Linked DNA regions of Homo sapiens: region 2 is linked to region 1. The links are contacts of gene promoters, found by promoter capture Hi-C in blood cells and fetal thymus (Javierre and others, 2016). All regions are on one chromosome and are shown on one strand. The core of a region is centred on a gene start or on the middle of the fragment in contact, and the rest is flanking DNA. Distances in the headings are between cores, read along the strand shown. Region 1 holds the start of CLUH (CLUH binding protein of NUMT mRNA). Region 2 overlaps LOC284009 (a long non-coding RNA gene).

The links. The method cuts DNA at HindIII sites, captures the fragments that hold promoters and counts their contacts. A CHiCAGO score of 5 or more calls a contact.
Region 2: a contact is called between a fragment that was not itself captured here and the fragment with the promoter of CLUH in region 1, in 1 of 17 cell types (fetal thymus). The highest score is 5.6, in fetal thymus.

What each region holds. Positions count from the first base shown.
Region 1 is chr17:2,710,025-2,714,069 of GRCh38, forward strand. CLUH (CLUH binding protein of NUMT mRNA) reads right to left here and starts at 1,740. Exons shown (of 26, transcript NM_001366661.1): 1 at 1,538-1,740. The coding sequence starts at 1,637. LOC105371592 (a long non-coding RNA gene) reads left to right here and starts at 2,285. Exons shown (of 2, transcript NR_136412.1): 1 at 2,285-2,375; 2 at 2,458-2,809. RefSeq lists enhancers at 299-378, 1,213-2,109, 2,110-3,005 and silencers at 1,619-1,738, 1,869-2,048. The HindIII fragment of the contact is 7,311 bases long and covers 1-2,653 here.
Region 2 is chr17:2,403,329-2,407,373 of GRCh38, forward strand. It overlaps LOC284009 (a long non-coding RNA gene), which reads right to left. Exons shown (of 3, transcript NR_028335.1): 3 at 3,653-3,902. Among named protein-coding and RNA genes, the nearest start is that of MNT, 4.3 kb to the left of the region's middle. The HindIII fragment of the contact is 2,381 bases long and covers 1,111-3,491 here.

The DNA.
Region 1 (4,045 bases), core at 490-2,989:
ACGCTCGTCAGCCCCCTAGTTCTCAGCACGGGATCCAAACCAACACGCCTGTCCCAGCTTCCTCTGGGCCAGGCCACGGCAGCCTTGGCTTGCTGGCCATGAGCTGGAATCCAAACACTTCCCTTAACAGCTAAATCGCTGTGTGACCTTGGGCAAGTCACTTCGACTCTTCGGGTCTCTGCTAGAGGGGAAATCAGCCAACCTCCTCTCATCCAGCCTGCCCCCACTGATTCAGAGCCACATCAGCACAAAGCCTGGTAGGTTGGGGCGATGAGCATCTGCTCTTCTGCCCAAACCTTGGCCTTGTCTAGACAATCAGCAGTACTGCCCCAGCACCTGTCCCTCACCCCAAGGCAACTCCGCTATGATGGGAACAGGGTCAGAGGGCTGAACGCTGTCCCCATCCTGATTCCCAAGTCAGCCCTGGCGCACTCACTGAAGCTAGGAAGGGAGATGATGAGGCGTTAAGACCACAAGTCCCAACTGAGGACAGTCGACGGAGGAGGGAGGGACTGGGGGACAGGAGTAGCTCTGCACCTCCACTGCCACCCAGAGCAAAGAGGGCCTGAGGAAGATGACGACTGAGGGCCTGGGAAGGGGATTCCAGCCCCAAGGCTGGAGTCTGAGACACGGTGGAGGGAACAGAAGGAAGAGAAGGGGCTCAGGAGAAAGGGAAAGCAGGCCCCACCCGAGACAAGCTGCAGCCACTGCCACAGTCACCACCATACAGCCCCCATGGGGGATCGCTGGGAGCTTGACTCCACACTAACGACCTTTGCCTTAAAAACAGCAACTCTGGTCTGACCCACTTTTCGCAATAAGGCAGGTTAATGATCAAGTTCTGGCACAAACACTTCCCCCTGCCAAGGAGTTTGGCTCTGCCCCATGCAAAGGCAGACGCCCCCTACACCAGGTCGGCCGAGCAGGCCAACACACCTGAGAGTCTCCGCCACAGCCTGAAGACCTGCGGTTATAGCCTGGCCTCAGGGCATGAACCAGGGACGCCCCTCACAACGCACACCCCGCACCTCGTGCTCTTCCCACAAACCAAGCCTGGGAAGCCTCGAGCGGAGCTTCACTCCCAGGGCTGCAGCCCTGCGCACAGGGGATGCCTGGGAGGCCGCCGCGGAGCAGGTGCCGAAGGGGGCTGTCCCGCAAACGTCGGAGCGACCCCAGCTCAGAGAGCTCCCATGCTCGGGCGCAGAGGGGGTGGGGCCGCCGATTCTTTCGGTCTGCGGCGGCGGCGCACCCCGAAACCGCGTGTGCGCGCACGTGTCCCCGCGATGAGGCGCGCGTGTGCCCGCCGAGGGTGCCAGCCGAGGCTGCCCTCCACGGGACCGCACGTGCGAAACCCGGGCCGCAGCCGGGGGCGACTGTGAAGGTGACCTTCAGCGCGGGGGCGACCCGGTGAAGGCCCCAGCGAGATACAACCGGGCCCGACGCGGAGGGAAGGCGGCGATCCCCGCGGAGTCCCGAACCCGCCCGCCCTGGTCCGGCGCCCCCCGCCCAGCGGCCCGCTGGCCCTGGCCCCGCTCACCGGCCGCGCCCGGCCGCCCCTTGCCCCCGGCCTGCGAGCCGTGTTCCCGGGCGCTGTCGGCCGGGGCGGCCGCCGGCAACTCGTCCGTCTTGATAACCATGGTGGCGGGAGCGGGCGTCCGCCTCGGCTGTCCGCGCCGCCCGCCGCGCCACTAACCCAAGTGCCCTGCGCGCCGCGGCTGCTGAGGGAAGGACGGAGTCACCGGCCCACGTGGTGCGCGCCGTGGCCTTTGACCCCGCCGCCGTTTCCCTGCCCCACCCTCGCGCCCGGCCCAGCCCACGGCGGCCCGCGAGGGACAAAACGCGCCGCGCCTGGTTCCCCGCCCACGGACGCGGTGACTTTCCAGAACGTCTTAAAGGCAACGCACTCTGACTCAAGGCCCAGGGAGGCTGGGCGCCCTCGCGGGGCGGGGCCTCGGGGAGACTCCCTGCTGCTCGCTGCCCGTCGGGCGGGCACTGTGACCTTGGGTGGAGACTGGTCTGGTTCTGCCATGGCTAATCCTCCCCTCTCCAAGGATCCCCTGTTTTCTCTTGCAGATTTGCTAAATGACCGCGCAGTCTGTCATCTGCGGTGTTCGCGTGACCCTCAGCGCCCTCCCCACCCGGCAGGCCCTTTCCCGCCGAATGGGTGCGGCTGGATTATTGAGGGAGTGGAGGGTCGCTTAGGGCACGGGCACGAGAGGCGAGGGCGAGACGTGGCTAATGGGGATCAAGAGTCAGAATGGACCCGCCAAACTTTGCCCCGAGCCAGAACGGGCTCCCTACCCGCGTCCTCGACCCATGGGTCCTCACCTCCAGGCTGGTGTCCTCATTTTACAGTGGAGGAGGCCGAGACCAAGGTCACACAGAGAGCAAGGGGTAGAGCCGGGTCTGACTCCATCCACAGCCAGGACGCTTTAACTCGTATTTTTCACTTGGCAGGGGCTTGGCGGGGACGGAACGGTGAGGTCAGAGAATGCTGCAGAGGGGACATTGGGACCAGGTCTTGCAGTGAGTTGAAGTGCTCCAGGCAGAGAGCGCCGGTGGGTCTTTCCTGGCCAGGCCGCAGGGGGCCTTTGGGAAGCACCCGAGGCCTATAACCTTCGGAGCGTTTGTCAAGCTCTAATGAGAACTGGAAAGCTTCAGCTTCCCGAGGTGGGCTGGGAGGGCCTTAGGTAGGGCCTCGCACAAATTGCGAAGGAAAGCCGACCTTGTTCTGGAGAGCACGTGGTGAGGAAAGCCAGCGACTTGATGTGAGCATTTAAACGGGAGGAAGGAAGATGAGAACTGGTAAGATTCTTCTCGGCCGGGCGGTGCAGCGGCTCACGCCTGTAATCCTAGCACTTTGGGAGGCCGAAGCCAGGCGGATGACTTGAGTTCAGGATTCGGAAGTTTGAGACCAACCTGGGCAACATTTCAAAACCCCCGTCTCTACAAAAAATATTGTTTAAAAAAAGCCAGGTGTAGTGGCACGCGCCTGTAGTCCCAGCTACTTGGGAGCTGAGCTGGGAGTATCACTCAGGACGGCTCAGATTGAGCCCAGGAGTTCCAAGCTGCAGTGAGCTATGATCGCACCACTGCACTCCTGCCTGGGTGACACAGACACCGTCTCAAAAAAAAAAAAAAAAAAAAAGCCGGGCGCGGTGGCTCACGCCTGTAATTCCAGCACTTTGGGAGGCAGAGGCGGGCGGATCACGAGGTCAGGAATTAGAGACCAGCCTGGCCAAGATGGTGAAACCCCGTCTCTACTAAAAATACAAAAATTAGCTGCGCATGGTGGTGTGCGCCTGTAGTCCCAGCTACTCGGGTGGCTGAGGCAGAAGAATCGCTTGAACCCAGGAGGTGGAGGTTGCGGTGAGCCGAGATCGCGCCATTGCACTCCAGCTTGGGCAACAAGAGAGAAACTCCGTCTCAAAAAAAGAAAAAAAAAGTGTGCATATATATATATAGTGTGTGTATATATATATAGTGTGTATATATAGTGTGTATATATATAGTGTGTGTATATATATAGTGTGTATATATATAAGTGTATATATAAAATATATATATTTATAATCAATATATATAAAAGTGTGTATATATGTGTGTATATATACACATACATACTTATGTGTGCGTGTGTATATACGTATGTGTATACACACACTCGTTCCTCTTTTGTTACACAAATGTGCAGAAAATTGTACCTGCTATTCTTCACTCTGATTTTTTTTTTACACGCTTTCAGTAGGTGTTCTCATTCCATTTACGCTGGATAATGTTGTATTGTTTGGTTGTACCATAATTCTTTTAGCCGGTCACCTGACTGATGGGTACTTAGTTTGTATTCATGAAACTCCAGGGTTTTTGAGAATTGTGCCTAGTGGCCCAGTGCAGCTGAAGTTGGAAGCCCGTGCATGTTGCTAATGCTACTCATAATAGGAAGCTCAGTTTTAACCCTGGGGGTTGGGGAAGAGCAGCAAGCCTGGGGTTAGAGAAACAGACACGTATAAAAAGCATCATCCAGCCGAGTGCGGCGGCTCACGCC
Region 2 (4,045 bases), core at 1,051-3,550, 310 kb before region 1:
TTCTGCACAACTAGAGAAAATGGAAAATTCAAAGGCAATATAATATATAGGCGGCAGTGGAACAGGGACTCTCAACAGTATACAGACAGTCCCTGACTTGTGATGGTTTGACACAGGACTTTCCAAGTTTGCAATGGTTGTAAAAGTGATAATCTAGCATGCGCTCAATTTAGGATGGGATTATGGCTGGTGAAACCCGTCCTAAGTGGAGCTGCATCTATACATGATTGTGACCTGAGTTAATGCTTTTGGGCAAGTTCTTATTTTGTGTGGGGTCAGCACCGTGGTGCACAGTGCTCCATCCAGCTGTCCCTTCCTGCTCTCCTCAGGTGGCCATGCACTCATACAGCCCTGGAGTTTCTGCTGAAGGCTGAGGTTTAATTTTTTACACTCTTCTTTGTCACTGGCCAACTCTATACCAGTAAGTAGGCACCTCTCTGAAAGGCAGTGTTCTTAAGACACTGTTCGCTTCAGGGGTGAGGAAGCAGAAGGTAAGAGTAGAGTGAACACAGATTTGAATGCCAGCCTCTCCATTGCCCCCAATACTCCATCTGCTCCAGAGCTTAGTGGAGATGTTTGCTATTTAAAACAAACAGCCTTACTGGCTTCACATGATCATCTGTTTATTTGGGTCATGTGGGGACAGCAGCCAGGGGATGTTAGACAAAAACAAGGGTTTAGAAGGGAGGCTGCAGGCCAGGAGCGGTGGCTCACGCCTGTAATCCCAGCACTTTGGGAGGCCGAGGTGCATGGATCACTTGAGGTCCGGAGTTCGAGACAATCCTGGCCAACGTGGTGTGGTGAAACCCTGTCTCTACTAAAAAAAAAAAAAAAAAAAGGAAGAAAAAAGAAAATTAGCTGGGCGTGGTGGCAGGCGCCTGTAATCCCAGCTACTGGGGGTGGTTAAGGCAGGAGAGTCACTTGAACCCGGGAGGTGGAGGTTGCAGTGAGCTGAGATGACACCACTGCACTCCAGCCTGGGCCACAGAGAGAGACTCCGTCTCCAAAAAAAAAAAAAAAAAAAAAAAAAAAGGGTGGGGGAGGCTGTTTCTGGACCTATTGTTGCCTACAGGAGCCTGAAAATGGCCAAAAACAATACCTCATCAACCAAGCTTTCCCCAGTTGAGGAATGGACAGTGGGGGTGGGAGATACCTATAAATGGCGATGTGAGGGCATGAAAGAAGAGGGGAATGAATAGGAGGGCTGTTTAATATTTTAGCCCCAGCTTCCTGTTCCAAGGGGGTGGAGCCAGGATAGAAGCTGGCAAATGTACTCACTCAAGAGAAAGAGAAATAAGTCCTTTTGGTTTCAGCAGAAAGGTTAGCAGGTTTGGGGAATTATCCAAAGGCCAGCAATCTCTAAAAAGGTGTTCCTTAAGTTTCTTTTTCTTTTTTTCTTTTTTGAGATAGAGTCTCCCTCTGTTGCCCAGGCTGGAGTGCAGTGGTGTGATCTTGGCTCACTGCAACTTCTGCCTCCCAGGTTCAAGTGATTCTCCTGCCTCAGCCTCCGGAGTAGCTGGGATTACAAGCACGCACCACCACGCCCGGCTAATTTTTGTATTTTTAGTAGAGACGGGGTTTCACCATGTTGGCCAGGCTGGTCTCAAACTCCTGACCTCAAGTGATCTGCCTGTCTTGGCCTCCCAAAGGGCTGGGATGACAGGCGTGAGCCACCGCGCCCGGCTGTTCCTTAAGTTTCTTCATGGCTTCTGGGTGCTTAGTACCTTGGAGCAGGAGAAAAGCTGGGCTGTCCATCATTGTGAGTTTCTCACGAGAGGGTTTCCGTTTTCAGTCTTCCTCCCCGAGTCTTGTGCACCCCACCTCCCAGTTCAAATTCCATTATGTCCTCCAATTTTTTAATCTTTTATTCTTTTTTTCACCAACCACAATAAGAAGCACCAATTCCCCAATTTTTTAATATGCTGAGCCAGAGACATCCCCTTAGTGGAACTGTCTTCCTATCCCCCACCACTCACCTAACAAAGTATCAACTCCAAGAGCTATGAAAATCAGTGCCCTGACTCCTACAAAGCCTGAGTCATGAGATGGGGGAAAGGGCGTGAAGCCGAAAGTACAGATGTTCACAGGAAATCCCAACCCTTCAAGCCTGATGTCTCATCTTTTGCAAGCAGCTAAGGAGCTTTTCACATACCATCATTAAAACAAGACCCATGGGAGGAAGCTGGCTGCAGGATGAAGAGGAAAAAACAGAAGACTAGTACACTCAAGACATACCAGAGAAGATCCATTTCATAAATATTTATTGTGTGCCTGAGGTGCCAAGCACTAGGCTAGGTATGCTGTGGCCAAGGCCAGGGGACCTCTGGTAAGCCAGAGCGGGGCAAAAGCAAACAGAGCGGAACTCCACTCCACTGTGATAACTTGCAAAAGATTAGTTCTGCTGTTCGCCACCGTGCTGGATGCAGCACCAGAGACAGGACGACACGAGGACCCAGAGGGCGCCGCCATGCTCATTTCAGAAGGTGCAGCCTCCGTGTCCGTGGGTCCGCACCCATGGAGGCAACTAACCGTGGATCAAAAATATTCAGGAAAAAAAAATGGAAAATATACAAGAAAAAATAATACAAATTTAAAAACCAACACAGCACAAGAACTATTTACACAGCATTTACATGGTATGAGGTATTTGAGTAGCGCAGAGATGAGTTAAAGGATACCTGAGGATGTGCATAGGTTACATGTAAGGGATTTGAGCATCATCCATGGACAGGTATTCAGGGAGGCTCCAGGAACCAATCCCCATTGGACAGTGAGAAGCAACTGTAATTCCGTTTTTCTATGTAGAGATAAAAACAAATTCAGTGGATTTAAGGCTGGGCCAGTCAACTGAGCCTGATTCCCCCAGTCTGAATGATGAGTGGGACTCTGAATTCCTTTGACAGAGGTGGACCCATTCAATCATCAGTGAAATGGGGTCCCCACAGCCAAAAGTTTCCACAGGACTCTTTACCTCCTTTCCCCACCCCAAGTGAGTTGTCAGAGGACCTCTCCTGAACTCACAGAACAGGTCCAATCAAGTTCCACCTCCCCATTCATGTCCTTTCCAGAAGCTGGGCGCGGTGGCTCACGCCCTAAGTTCCAGCTACGTGGGAGGCTGAGACAGGAGAATCGCCTGAGCCCAGGATTTCAAGGCCAGCCTGGGCAACATAGCAAGATACTGTCTCAAAAAAAAAAAAAAAAAAATTGCAGCCTCACATGATGTCATAGCTGGAAGAGCTGGGATCATGGGGTCTGACCTCCCAAGAGAAGGTGTATCCAAGGTCACAAAGCTGCCAAGCATCAGCTAGGTTGAGAAGTGGCCTGGTCCTCCTCTTTGGCTGGCTGGGCCAGGCCTGGGGAAGTGCTATCAGTGTGGGGTGTTGAGTCCCTGAAAGCCTCCCAGAAGTGGGTGAAGATGGAGAGGGAACTCCACCCCTCCTCGTTAAAGACAGGAATAATCATTCACTTTGCTTAGTGGTCCCCAATAAACAAGCTTAGCAGATAAGCGGGAAGACAGGGAAAGGGAATCAGACTTGGGATCCAGGAGCTCGCAGGACCCTGTTCTGCCCCAGGCCACTCAGGAATGGAGAGCTGCTAGCTGGACCTGGGTAGGTCACCATTACTCACTGGGGCTTTTGTCTGGCATGAAAGGTGACGGGAGAAAGGGGCAGATTTTTATCCAGGCAGCCACCGTGGGTGTGGACACTGAGTAATAAGGAAAGAAATGCAGTTCAGAAGCAAAGAGGGAGGAGCCAGGTCCTCTGAGCTCTTCTGAGAAACCAGAGCCCAGTCGAGCTCTGCAGCTAGAGTGGCAGCTGCGGATGACAGTGGGTCAGAAGCTTGGTGGGAGGAGGCTGACCCAGCGGAAAGGCACAGGAGACGGATGACGATGTCAGGGATTCCTTTAAAGGAAAAAAGAGGTGGCTTTATGACAGCAAAACTAATTCAGGTCAAGGGAGTGGGACTGGGCAGAAGTTATGAGTAAAGCCGGGTGGAGTCTTGCCATGGGAGTCAAGAGTCCGCTGGATCACGCAGGGGTGGGGAC